Linked DNA regions of Homo sapiens: regions 2 and 3 are each linked to region 1. The links are contacts of gene promoters, found by promoter capture Hi-C in blood cells and fetal thymus (Javierre and others, 2016). All regions are on one chromosome and are shown on one strand. Each heading gives the region's core, a stretch centred on a gene start or on the middle of the fragment in contact. The rest is flanking DNA. Distances are from core to core; before and after follow the strand shown. Region 1 holds the start of SERP1 (stress associated endoplasmic reticulum protein 1). Region 2 has its middle 12 kb from the start of LINC01213. Region 3 has its middle 37 kb from the start of MINDY4B.

Evidence for each region. Contacts are between HindIII fragments. The CHiCAGO score rates a contact against its expected background, and 5 or more counts as called.
Region 2: a fragment that was not itself captured here is called in contact with the fragment with the promoter of SERP1 in region 1 in 2 of 17 cell types (endothelial precursors and megakaryocytes); the score reaches 8.1 in endothelial precursors.
Region 3: a fragment that was not itself captured here is called in contact with the fragment with the promoter of SERP1 in region 1 in 6 of 17 cell types (activated CD4 T cells, naive CD4 T cells, erythroblasts and 3 more); the score reaches 8.7 in activated CD4 T cells.

What each region holds. Positions count from the first base shown.
Region 1 is chr3:150,544,155-150,548,164 of GRCh38, reverse strand. SERP1 (stress associated endoplasmic reticulum protein 1) reads left to right here and starts at 1,669. Exons shown (of 3, transcript NM_014445.4): 1 at 1,669-2,113; 2 at 2,387-2,462; 3 at 3,667-4,010. The coding sequence starts at 2,030. The coding sequence ends at 3,707. It overlaps EIF2A (eukaryotic translation initiation factor 2A), which reads right to left and starts at 1,378. Exons shown (of 14, transcript NM_032025.5): 1 at 1,335-1,378. The coding sequence starts at 1,362. RefSeq lists enhancers at 1,071-1,610, 883-2,082, 1,528-2,158. The HindIII fragment of the contact is 4,802 bases long and covers 1-2,902 here.
Region 2 is chr3:150,224,200-150,228,585 of GRCh38, reverse strand. No RefSeq gene overlaps it. Among named protein-coding and RNA genes, the nearest start is that of LINC01213, 12 kb to the left of the region's middle. The HindIII fragment of the contact is 1,508 bases long and covers 649-2,156 here.
Region 3 is chr3:150,865,938-150,870,268 of GRCh38, reverse strand. No RefSeq gene overlaps it. Among named protein-coding and RNA genes, the nearest start is that of MINDY4B, 37 kb to the left of the region's middle. The HindIII fragment of the contact is 8,369 bases long and covers 1-4,331 here.

The sequences.
Region 1 (4,010 bases), core at 420-2,919:
TCAGTATTGATGGAGCACCAAATAAGATGGGATGGCAAGGAAATAAATGAGTCTCAAGAGCAATTCAAAGATTATAAATGGTTACATAACTATGCTACATAGGATGGAATCTACCCTGTAAGCAGAGAGGAACTACCTACTGTAGGCATTTTTAAAGGAGGGGTTATTTATCAGATTTTAGAATGTAATTTTTTCATTAGAGTTCAAATAAGCATTTAGTATTAAAAATTGTGAATAACAAGCTACCTTTACAAACCTAAAAAAAAATTTATTATGTAACTTTGCCTTTTAAACAGTCTTTGCCTGGTATATTATCTAGAAGATTATACTCGGCGTTTGATAAATGATGACTAAACTGCAGAAGACAGACTGAGCATCAGTGGGCATGGCGCTTAATAACAAAGATTTTAAAATGTAAAAATAGAAATGTAGACTGGCAAAAAGTGCAAAAATGTTTTAAGGTTCCTTTCGCGGGGGGGAAGGGAGGGAATAGCCTCCCTCCTTAAATGCAGACAACCTTTCTCTTAATGACTTTTTCCTTCTATATAGTTATCAGAACTTAACCAAAACCTTCTTTTCCTTCCCGACTCTCTTTTCCTTACGTAATACTCATATGCAGACTCTTAGCCACACCCTAGTAAAGCAACTTCCCCAGCATTTTCCAATCTAAGTTTATTATCTCCTCCAACACTACAGTCTTTAGCTTCAAAATTTCAAGAGTCCTCTAATGTTCTATTTCTAATATGCTCATAACCATTTCAAAATCAAATGTTGCTAGAATATCTCTATCATGCTCACTGCTACACCCTCTCCCAACCACACCTTCATCATTTGAAACCTGCATTACAGCTCCACTCTCCCTATTCAGTCCTACAAACCTCATTAAGGCAGGAAGGCCAGAATCTGGAATTACTTAAGTCCAGGTGTATTTAAAGTGCGTGATCATTCTAGAGGACTAACTCATGTTTGTCTTTGTTCTTATTGTAGACCTAAATGACTTCACAAGGGCCCGTGTAACACCAGTATTGCAGACCCATGTGTCACAAATTCAACTAGCACATTGTTTTTCTCCCCCTTCTTCTATTTCTGTAGAAGATGAATCCGCAGGCAAGAATGATGGATGGGTGAAAGGGAGGGGGAATACGAAAGCCCAGAGGCGGAGACTTCACTTCCGATTGCCACGCTATATCAAGAAAGCCAACAGTCTGGCCTTTCCGCAAGCCACAAGAAAAGGCAGATCAGACTCCCCGGCTCCTCGGGTAGTTCTCAAAGGCAAAGACAAAAATAAGAAACTAGTCTGAAGAAAGAGAGTCCCTCGCTTCTTCAGAACTCACCTGTCAAGAGCGGCGTGGACGGCGCCATGTTGTCCCGGAAAGAGAAACCGCTCGGGTGAGAGTTCACCAGGGCCGAACCCGGCCCCTACACGTCTCCTCATGCGTGGAGACAGCGAATTGGTGTTTCCGGAGCCATCAGCCTCGGGGCCAATTCACTTCCGGTTACGGAGTGACGCGGAAAAGGCGCCCAAACGCGCACGCGCAAATCTAGGGCGACGCTTGACAGAGCTTGGGAGGGTGCGCCTGCTTTCGCCCTCCTTCTCCAGCGGGAGGGGCGCGCACTTCCGCGGGGCGGAGTCCGTCTAGTGCTGACGTTGGCAGCCGAACCCAAAGTAGATCGAGGCGGCGGGCTGCACATTCCCGTTGTTGCGTTGCGTTTCCTTCCTCTTTCACTCCGCGCTCACGGCGGCGGCCAAAGCGGCGGCGACGGCGGCGCGAGAACGACCCGGCGGCCAGTTCTCTTCCTCCTGCGCACCTGCCCCGCTCGGTCAGTCAGTCGGCGGCCGGCGCCCGGCTTGTGCTCAGACCTCGCGCTTGCGGCGCCCAGGCCCAGCGGCCGTAGCTAGCGTCTGGCCTGAGAACCTCGGCGCTCCGGCGGCGCGGGCACCACGAGCCGAGCCTCGCAGCGGCTCCAGAGGAGGCAGGCGAGTGAGCGAGTCCGAGGGGTGGCCGGGGCAGGTGGTGGCGCCGCGAAGATGGTCGCCAAGCAAAGGATCCGTATGGCCAACGAGAAGCACAGCAAGAACATCACCCAGCGCGGCAACGTCGCCAAGACCTCGGTAAGGAAAGAGCGGGCGCCCCTCTGCGTTCCGCAGCCGGAGCTGAGTCCGGGTCCCTGGGGCCGCGTCGCGTTTTCTCCCGGATCCGGCCGACCGTGGGCTGGTGCCGTGGAGGGGTAGGGGCCCGAGTCTGCGAACCGCCAGACTGTGGGGGCTCGGGAACGGAAGGGGAGACCTGTGAGGTGAGGGGGCCGGCGACCGGCGTGCAGGCGTGGGAGCCTGGGGTCCGAGTGGTTTCTCTGCATCTGAAATGGTGGATTTTCGCTTTTGCAGAGAAATGCCCCCGAAGAGAAGGCGTCTGTAGGACCCTGGTTATTGGCTCTCTTCATTTTTGTTGTCTGTGGTTCTGGTAAGTGGCTTGGGGGCTCCCATCAGGTAGAGTCTTGGGTTGAAAGGATTTGGGATGACGTGGTGACCGGTCAGTAGTGAGTCCTACCTGCGTAGTTCTCAACCCACCTGCCGAGGACTCCACATAATTCTGTTTCGTCTGAACCAAATTACTTGTTCCACATATGCACAGAGGGTGGTGCTCCAGAAACTTCTCCCAGCTTAATTTGTACTCACAGGAGATCAAAAAGGAGGTCAGGTCTTGGTAATGATCCAGTTGGAATAAATGTTAAGACCGGACAAAACCTAACGAAATGAGAATTTAGAATGTTTTGTAACTCCATTATCAGTCTTTGCAAAGAAAATTATAAATATGTACTATAGATGTTAGAACTTGATTTAACATATACCAGAATCTAATGTCTTAATGTCAAAATTGAGTATATTTTATAAAATAAAGCTTGTGCAAAGAATTGATTCACTATAGAGGAAATTACCTGATTGGCATTTTAATGTGTGAGTCAAATGTTTTTAGGTTAATAAAAGAAACGTTTGATACATGGTTTAAAAAAAAAGTGTCGGGGTAGCCTGCTGTCCCCTAAGAGTAACAGACACTTGCCTTTGCAAATAGATTACAAAAAAAAGGTCTTTCCTCTCTTCATTTATCATTTTAATATGCAAGCTGTTAATATTGAAGTAGATGTTTGTTTTCCACATTCTAAAATTACTGAGATTTCTGTTTAACGTTTCACTTTGCCTTTCTTCTTCACTTACCAATTGGAAGCTTTCCTGATAAATGGATGAGAGCCAAGCAGTTTATATAACCTGAAGATGATTGAATTTCAGCTTTGTGAGAATGAGGAAACATGCATGTGTTACAGGCCAGGCCTTAAAAGGATGCTTATAAACCAAAATAATTCTATGCTGGAAAAACCTGTTGGCTTTGGTGCTTTAAGTTCTTTGTAAAATGATTACTTATCTGCAAGTTCTCTTGGATACTTAGACATAAAGTTCAGCGAAGCTAAGATAAAAAAATAACTCAGGGATATTTCATTGTTTTATTTATTCAGACAGGCCTGTCTTCACTTCTTATTATACTGAAGTTATGTACCATTTGCAAATGTAAGAGTACCTTTGGATTCTTCAGCTACCTTAATAAATATTTGTTAGACACCAGACCTATTTTATTCAAAGCTTATTTTAATATTTGCTCTTTCTTTTTACAGCAATTTTCCAGATTATTCAAAGTATCAGGATGGGCATGTGAAGTGACTGACCTTAAGATGTTTCCATTCTCCTGTGAATTTTAACTTGAACTCATTCCTGATGTTTGATACCCTGGTTGAAAACAATTCAGTAAAGCATCCTGCCTCAGAATGACTTTCCTATCATGCTTCATGTGTCATTCCAAGGTTTCTTCATGAGTCATTCCAAGTTTTCTAGTCCATACCACAGTGCCTTGCAAAAAACACCACATGAATAAAGCAATAAAATTTGATTGTTAAGATACAGTAGTGGACCCTACTTATTCAGTCAATTAAGAGTAAGTTTTTTTATGTGGTTATTAAAA
Region 2 (4,386 bases), core at 153-2,652, 320 kb after region 1:
CCATAAGATAAGAGAGTACCTATGAAGACATAAAGAGACTCCTGAAGAGTACCCTATGTCTAGGGGAGAGTACTCAAGGAAAAGCAAAACTGGAAGGGGTGGGCTCTTCCCCAAGGCTGCGATTCCAACATTATTGGAGCAGGCAAGCATGTGGCCTACTAGATAGCAGTTAAGTTCACTGGGCTGTCCAGCCAGAGCCGGTCCACAGCCTCCAGGCCAGCAGGAAAGAAACCAATGAGTGCAGGTGCGTTAAGTCTGGGAGGTGAGGCCTCATGTGTGCAATGGGTGGAGGGTCTGGTGTGCAATGCTCATGTTGTGTGGGCCCAGGGAAACAACATCCTGGGGTGCAGGCCAGCTGATGCTGGAAAGCAGTGCCCAGGAAGAGTTGAGACTCCACTGCAGATGTTAATCCACATCCCAAGGACTGAGGTGAGGTTCACTGGGCCGAGTCTGGGGCTCTGAGGTCACTGAGGGACTGTACATTCTGGGTATATGGCTGGGGCAGAGCACCACTGGGTAACTCACACACGCACTGTTGACAGACCATGCAGCTGGAGCAACAAAAAACAAAGGTCAGTACCCTGGAACCAGGAAGAAAAGCCCCCCTTCTCCTACAGTGTCCCTCCAGCGCCCTCTACCGACAAAGCTTCACATCGATCTCACTGTAAAGGGGAAATGCTTGAAGAGTCCATTCCATTACCCCAGAGCAGTTACTGAAGGGTGGATGTGGGGCTGAGAGGCAATAAATTAATAACTGGCATAATGATCAGTGGCTAGGTTCATTATTCATTAGGGGTTGCAAAATGGTGATAATCTAATTCTATCCATCTTCCTACATTAGGTTGGAAGGCTTCTAGTGGGAGAAACTTCCCACATCCCCTCTTTGGTGAGGCCCCAAGGCAAAATGTGCACAAAAACCTGGCTCCCACCCCACTGCCACCACTTTCCCTCTTCTTACCTAGTGTAGATCCTTAGGGTCTTAGTAATTTTTAAATTCACCTTATCTTTAATTCCAGGTCTGATCTGAACTCTACTTCTGGCCTCTTGGCATCTCCTTTTCGCTCTGGTCCAATGCCTAACTTCAGGTCGAAACTATTTTCTTACCACCTCCTGAATCTTGACTCTGCCCATAAATTCCCTGAAGAGAATGTATGGGAAGTGGCACTTCTCATTTACATCTCCTGTAATCCTCGCAAACACCTTATGAGATGGGTGTTATTGTCTGGGTTTTACAGATGGGGAACCCAACTAAGGCTTAGAGAGGTGAAGCAAGGAATGAAGAGCTGGGGTTAGAGCCTGAGGCTGCTCACCTCTGAATTGTGAGAGTTGGAGGCCCAGAAGGACATGCTGCCTTCCGCAGATTCCTCTTCAGGTAACATCAAACTCACATGCCTCCTGGATTCTCACCAGTTCTCTGTTTTTTCCTGAATTTCCAGGTCATTACAAATGTTCTTCACATTGTCTCCTGCTAGCTTCACCACTGAAAACTCCCCATCTCTCTTACAGGATCACTTCCTCCAGTATCCAATCCAGGTCTTTATTTTCAGGCCTGGATTTCTTCTGAAACAGTTGCCTAATGCTATTTAACTGCATTTACTTCCCCACAACTTAATTGCATTTTATTTTCTCTTGTCTCAGATTACTGGGACAGACACCTAAATCCTCTCTAGTTCTGAAGATACTGTTTTTACCTCCTCCATCATCCACTCTCCTGCACTCTCCCTACACAGAGAAGGGAATGAGAATAGAGGTGAGAACTTCTCTTCCCAGAGGTAGGTATGCTACTGGGGGTGGGGGTGGGGGTGGGGGATGGGGTGTAAAGAAGGAAATAAACAACTGCCAGACCTGGCACTGACATTGAAACTCTCTTCATTCTCCACTTCAGAAAACCATGACCCAGCTATGAGGTCTCTATCATTCCAGCTATGTAGAGACAGCTAAAAATCATGGTGAAACCTCCGCTGTCCTTTCTTTCTTCTCCAGTTCATCCTTCCTCATTCAACAACTCACCTGCTACTTTTCCTTTTCTCTCGAGTCATCCCCTCCACCCTACAGTTATAGCTCCCAACTCCTGATCATCCTGAGCCCCTTCCCCTCCATTCCTTCCTCTTGGTCCGTAGCCCCTCTCTTCCTCTTTCCTTCCTCTTACCCAAGCTTCACTGGCAAAATCAAACAACATAACAAAAGAATGGGGAATAAGCAAACAGCTGCCTACCCTTGCTTGGAAGTCCCTGGGAAGCAGCTTCCTTCACCTCCATTGATTCTGAGTCTCTGCGCTTCGGAGTGTTTGGCCCTCGTTCAAGGCTACGGTGGCCATGGACTCATTGTGTTGAGATGAAGGTAAATCCAGGCAGTTTCTTTTTTTAGATGCAATTGTGTTTCTGGAAAAGGCTGCACATCACATAATAGGAAATCCTGAGAGGGTGAAGACTGTTTCCTGCCAGTTGAAGCATTGTTGTCTTTGGCTGTTCTGACAATAGCAGAAACCTTCGAGTAAGGTGGAGGGGCCGGGAGGGAAGAGCTGGCTGCGTTGGGGTAGATGAAGAGTGAACTGCGGAGTCGGGGAAAGTGGAGATTGCCAGGGACAGTGATATAAACTAAGTGAAAGCAAATAAGTTGTAGAACCCTGCCAAAGGATGAAACCAGCCAAGAAAAAAAAAAAAAGAAAAAAAAGAACTCTGATTACTTCGAAAAAATATCTGTCAAAATGCTCTCAGCTAGGGGAAGACATTGTCAGGTTATTATGGGCTTTTTTTTTTTTAATATAAAAAATGGTCCATGAAACAAGTAGGTATCTAATGGATCCTGCTCGGGGATGGTAATGATGACAGTCAGTGATGATGACAATGATGGGGATAGTGATAACTATATTGGAGAAAGTCACAGCTTCATTCATTTAAAATAGAAATGCTCTCTGCTGTAGAATCTTTAGACCTAAAAAAATAGAGGCTCTTTGGGGATCTATGGATAGTTCTGGAGCAGGGGCTTCTCATCTTTTAAGTGCATATGAATTTCCTGGGATCTTGTTAAAATGCAGGTTCTGATTCATACCCTGGGATGAGCCCGAGATTCTGCATTTCTGACCAACTCCCAAGTGAGTTCTGCTGGTCGTTTAACAGATCCATCCTCTTTCTACACTCGGGACTAAAGGCGCTTTTTCCTACTTCAGGTGCAATGACTTCATGTTGGGGACTTGAAATTGGCCAGTGCTATATGTGAAAATCAGGGCTTTTTTCTCCCCCTACTTTTTTTTTTTTCCTCTTTCTTTTTGGAGAGCTGGTTTACCAGCATACTTTTGGAGTGGGAGAATGACCACTGTGTGGTCCATGGACCCACGAGGCCCATTTTGAGACTGATGTGGGCCGTTTATCACAAGGTTCTGTATGTTCCACTCTAACAGGGGGCCATGGTGGTGCTTGGGTCAACTGTCATTCGTGTCCACTCAGATCCTATGTCTAATAGTCCTTGAAAGATCTAGGGGTTCTCCTTTCTCCGGTGTAGAATTACTCAGGTAAATGGCTAAAGGAGTCTCTGGGGAGGATTGGGGGAAGAGCTACCACAGATATTTGGTGTGGTTTGTTGCAGCATCCTTCCTCAAAGGGACCTGACCTCCCCTTCAATCAATGAGTCCTGGATCTTAGAGCTGACTCACATGCAGAAACTGGGTGAGGGATTGTGATTTTTATTATAGCAGCTGACACCAGCCTTCTGCCCACTTGCTCTTGATCTTTTCAGTGACATAAGTCAAGCCAGGCCCTCACTGGCTGCCCGTGATCTCACCTGCAGACACACCATGGTCTATCAGCCACCCCGAGGGGTCCCCGCAGGTCAAGGCTCAGGGTTGTCTTTCTGCTGTGCTTCTCATTACGACAATTACTTCCACCTTGCCTCTGATGGTTCAGTGCCTCCACCTGGACTTTGGTATTCCAGCGTGGTATCATTCCCATTGACTATGAAGCCCAATTCTAAGGCAGCATCTCCTGCAAAAGAACCACTGCAGAAGTTCTCAGGGACACTGATGCCTCCCTAACTAGTGGACGCCTCATTACTGTAGTAAAGGGAGAATTCTCTTTGCTTTTTACCAGGATATTAATCCTCAGTCACTAAGCTCTTCCTTATCCAGCCTTATTTTCTGTCCCTGCCAACCCTGACTCAACACTGTCAAGATCCATTCCCATTCATGTTCTCCCAGTCCCTGCCAGTATTTATTACCCAGGTCCTGTGGCTTTCCTCCCTTGCAGGGATGCTGCTTCGCTGCCTGAACCTTACTGAGACTTGACCATAATTGATCTACAGCAAAGGGGAGAGGCAGGAGCAGATCTTCAGGACAGCAAACATTGTCTGGGAAGGTACCTGACTCAGGGGAGGTCTTTGTCTAATCATCTC
Region 3 (4,331 bases), core at 1-2,500, 320 kb before region 1:
TTTCCCTGTCCTGTTAAATGCCTATGTTCTTTCTGAAGAGATACACAGAGTAAACACATATTCCTTCTAAAAGAAGTACACGAGAATAATGTAGACACCGCCAGCCACCCCGCTAATCTGCCACCTCACAGACTTAGGGCACTGTATTCACAATCCCAAGGTTAGTTTCCAAAGAACAATCTTTCTGCATTCATTCAAATTCATTTATTAAATGCATTTGCATTTGGCTCAAAGAATAATGTTTTAACTTAAGGACCATGTAGGAAATGAAACTTCAAGGTGAATAATAAATTATGTCAGAAGAGAAAGGCAATTAGGCTTGAATTGCGGATTATAGTATCTTTATCATTGGTGTTTTCACTGGGGATTTTAAATACACTGGACAAATAAGTGGATCCCTACAGACTTTGGGCTTATGTGGTCTTAATCTTACTTACATTGTGCTTTTCCTGAGGTGCGGGCCTGTTTTTTGTTTTATGGACACTACATTGTTTCTTACTGAATGTCTCTTTTGGAGTTGACTGCTTAGAGCTGAATTAAAAAACACACCAGTGCATTAGTAAGGAACTGCTCAGCTGCAAGTAAGAGATCTCACGAAAAGTCGCAAACAATAAAGATATTCCTTTTAACAAGAGCTGTCTAGCTAGGGGATCCATGACTCAGATCATCATGGTTCATCCTCTGAGTCTGAGAACAGGGCACTTGATATTAGAACAAAATCAGGGTTTTGTAGAAGGAAGAAAAGCAGGATGACTGTCGGGTAGTGTATCGGTCCTTACAAAAGCCAACTTTTAAATTGACCTCATTCTTGTATCCATTTTATGTTCCTTCCCTTATTCCTCCTTTGAATTTTTAATTTGTTTATAATTTATGTTAGTTTGCCATATTTTATATGGTATTGTAATTTGGGTTAAATTATTCCTGGAACAAGTCTATAAATAAGTAAAATAATGGAGGAAAGATTAAGTACCTACGTTTTAGATGTAAAAGTATAATTTTGATATATAAAACTATTAATTACTTTGTATATCAATGTTCAGTGAAAATAAGTTATTTTATCTTATAAACAGGGTACCCGGTAATACTTGATTTTTTTCTTCAGAGTGGAGACATGTTATTTAAAAATAACTGGAAGTGGCTGGGCGCGGTGGCTCACGCCTGTAATCCCAGCACTTTGGAAGGCCGAGGTGGGCGGATCACGAGGTCAGGAGATCGAGACCATCCTGGCTAACACGGTGAAACCCCATCTCTACTAAAAATACAAAAAATTAGCCAGGCGAGGTGGCGGGCACCTGTAGTCCCAGTTACTCAAAAGGCTGAGGCAGGAGAATGGCGTGAACCCAGGAGGCGGAGCCTGCAGTGAGCCGAGATCACGCCACTGCACTCCAACCTGGGCGACAGCGAGACTCCGTCTCAAAAAAAATAAAATAAAATAAAATAAAAAAATAAAAATAACTGGAAGTTTCTCAGAGCCATTAGTTCACTTTTAAACTTTGTTTTGAGAAAAATGACTTTTTTTTCAGCTTCTCAAATACAAAGCAGAAGAAAGCTGTTTGCTTGAAGACGGGGATATTAATTTTTCTGACTAGTCATCTAAACTGACTGTGTCTTTAGTGGGAATGAACCCTTGAGGCGATGGCAACTATTTTCCTCTTTCAAATATCAACTTAGACTGGAACATTCCCCCGAATTATTGTTTGCTCTTAGACAAGATGTGTGAATCATTTTTCCAAGAACATTCTCACCAATGTCACAAGACCCGTAGGAGCAGGCCAGGTTGGGGGAGGCCTAAGATTCCCTTCACTTCACACTGTGGAAATAACCCTGAATAGCAACTGGCTGAGACTGGACCTGAGCTGTCCAGGCTGTGGGCACTCTTCAGCCACACCTGGGCCTGCATTTTCTGTTAATGGTTGTAATTCCCTTGTCAGGGCCTTAGAGACATAATCATTCATTCATTCATTCATTCAATGTTTTTTATTTTATTTTTATTTTTATTTTTGAGATGGAGTCTCACTCTGTCGCCCAGGCTGGAGTGCACTGGTGTGACCTTGGCTCACTGTAACCTCCACCTCCCGGGTTCAAGCGATTCTTGTGCCTCAGCCTCCCAAGTAGCTGGGACTACAGGTGCACACAACCACTCTGGCTAATTTGTTTGTATTTTTTGGTAGAAATTGGGTTTCACCATGTTGGCCAGGCTGGTCTTTAACTCATGACCTCAAGTGATCTGCCCGCTTGGCCTCCCGAAGTGCTGGGATTCAGGCATGAGCTACCATGCCTGGCCATTCAATGTTTTTTAACATGCCCTATGTGCCAGGCACTATGCTTGATGCTGGGGAAAATCAGCACAGCGAGCAAAATCAGATGTGGCACACCCTCTTTTCTTATGAAACTTAGGCTCTTCTGAGGAGATGGCAATTAATCAAAAAGCACTTTAATAAAGATAAACTTGAAAACTAAGGGAAGAGATTTTGGGTGCGTCAATCTTATAATAAAGAACTGAAAGAAAAGGAAAAGGCATGTCTGAGGAAGAGATGGTTAGCTGAAGTAAGAAGGCTGCATAGAGATAACAGGGTAAGGGGAAGAAGGGCAAGCAGATGTGAAGCCCTGTGGTGAATGCGCCTGAGGAACAGAAAAGCCTGTGGGGCTAAAGAGTGGTTGTGAAGCAGCTGGAGCAAAAGGTGGGGCCACCGCAAGGCAGTGTAGACTATAAGGTGTGAGAAACCTTGGAAAGGTTTTAAGTGGCCTGGTAAGATTTGCATTTTGAACACATGCCTCAGAGTAGAACATGGATTGGAGAGAGCCCCAAGTGCATGCAGAGACCAGTTAGGCATGCGGAGACTAGTTAGTTAGGCAGTGGTGTGGACAAGAGATGGTCAGAACAGAATGGAGGCAATTAAAGTAGACTGAAGTGGGCCTCTCAGGAGACACCTCTTGGTAGGTAAAATGGAGAAGGCTGAAATAGGTTGCATGGGGAGGGAGATGAGGAAGAAAGAAAGAAGGATCAAGGATGACTTCTAGGTTTCTGATTTGATAACTGGATGGAAGGTTGTACCTTCACAGAACTTGGAAACACTCAAAACATACCAGATTTTGAGGGCAAGAAATCACACATCTAGTCTTAGACATGAAACATTCAAGTGGAAAGGTAGATTAATGGATCAGAAATAAGGATCTGGAAATCAATGGAGAGGTTTGGACCAGAGAAATAAATACACCTGGGAGTCACTAAGGGTAAGTAACATGGTGGCCTGGGGTAAGACTGCCCAAGGAGAGTATGAAGCAAGAAGATAGCTGGGCCTAATGCTGAGCCCTTAGGAATTCTCGTGTCAGCAGTCAGGCAGTGTGCGAAGAGCCTGGAAAGCAGGCGCAGAAGAAATAGCCAGAGACAGAGGAGAAAAATGAGAATTGAACTGTGTCTAGAAACCATGCCCTGTAGGTAAGGGCAGGCATTTCTTCCATCAATCATCGTGGGAACAGGAAGGAGGACGCCTAAGGAGAGGGAAGAAAGGCTCTCCCCACCCTAATGCTGCTGCCAGAGCTGGGAGCCTTGCACAGGGCCTGGACCAACATTTAGGGAACACAGCCAAGTGACAGAGAACGGCAAGTTGTCAGAAGTCCAAGGGGCTTCTTAAAGCAGAGACACGATCAGGAGAAGTAACATTTTAGGTTTTCCTGCATTGTAATTCCTTTGTGTTTAAATTAAGATGTTAAACATTCTAGCCTGATATTCCCTGTGCTTTGTTTGGGAAATTAAGAGAGGGATCTGCTTCACATGTAGAGACACTTTCTAACACCTGGAGAAGCCAGTCTTGTGAAGGAAAGAGGTCTCCTGAGAAGCCCAGAGCAATAGAACAGGATAGAATGATGAGCTAAGGTGTGAGGAAAATGACGCCAGCAAAAAAGCGCAACAGAGAAAACCAAATCAGATTCAAGATGGCGGCAAGAAAAGCCCAGTCTCAAAAAAAAAAAAAAAAGGGAAAAAGAAGGGCTGGGCGCAGTGGCTCACACCTGTAATCCCAGCACTTTGGGAGGCTGAGGCGGGTGGATCATGAGGTCAGGAGTTCCAGACCAGCCTGGCCAAGATGGTGAAACCCCGTATCTGCTAAAAATACAAAAATTAGCCAGGCGTGGTGGTGGGCACCTGTAATCCCAGCTACTCGGGAGGCTGAGGCAGAGAATTGCTTGAACCCGGGAGGCGGAGGTTGCAGTGAGCCCAGAACGCACCACTGCACTCCAGCCTGGGCGACAGAGTGAGACTCCGTCTCGGAAAAAAAAAAAAAAAGAAAAAAGAAAAGCCCAGTCTCAGAGGATGCAATTCTAGGTGAGTT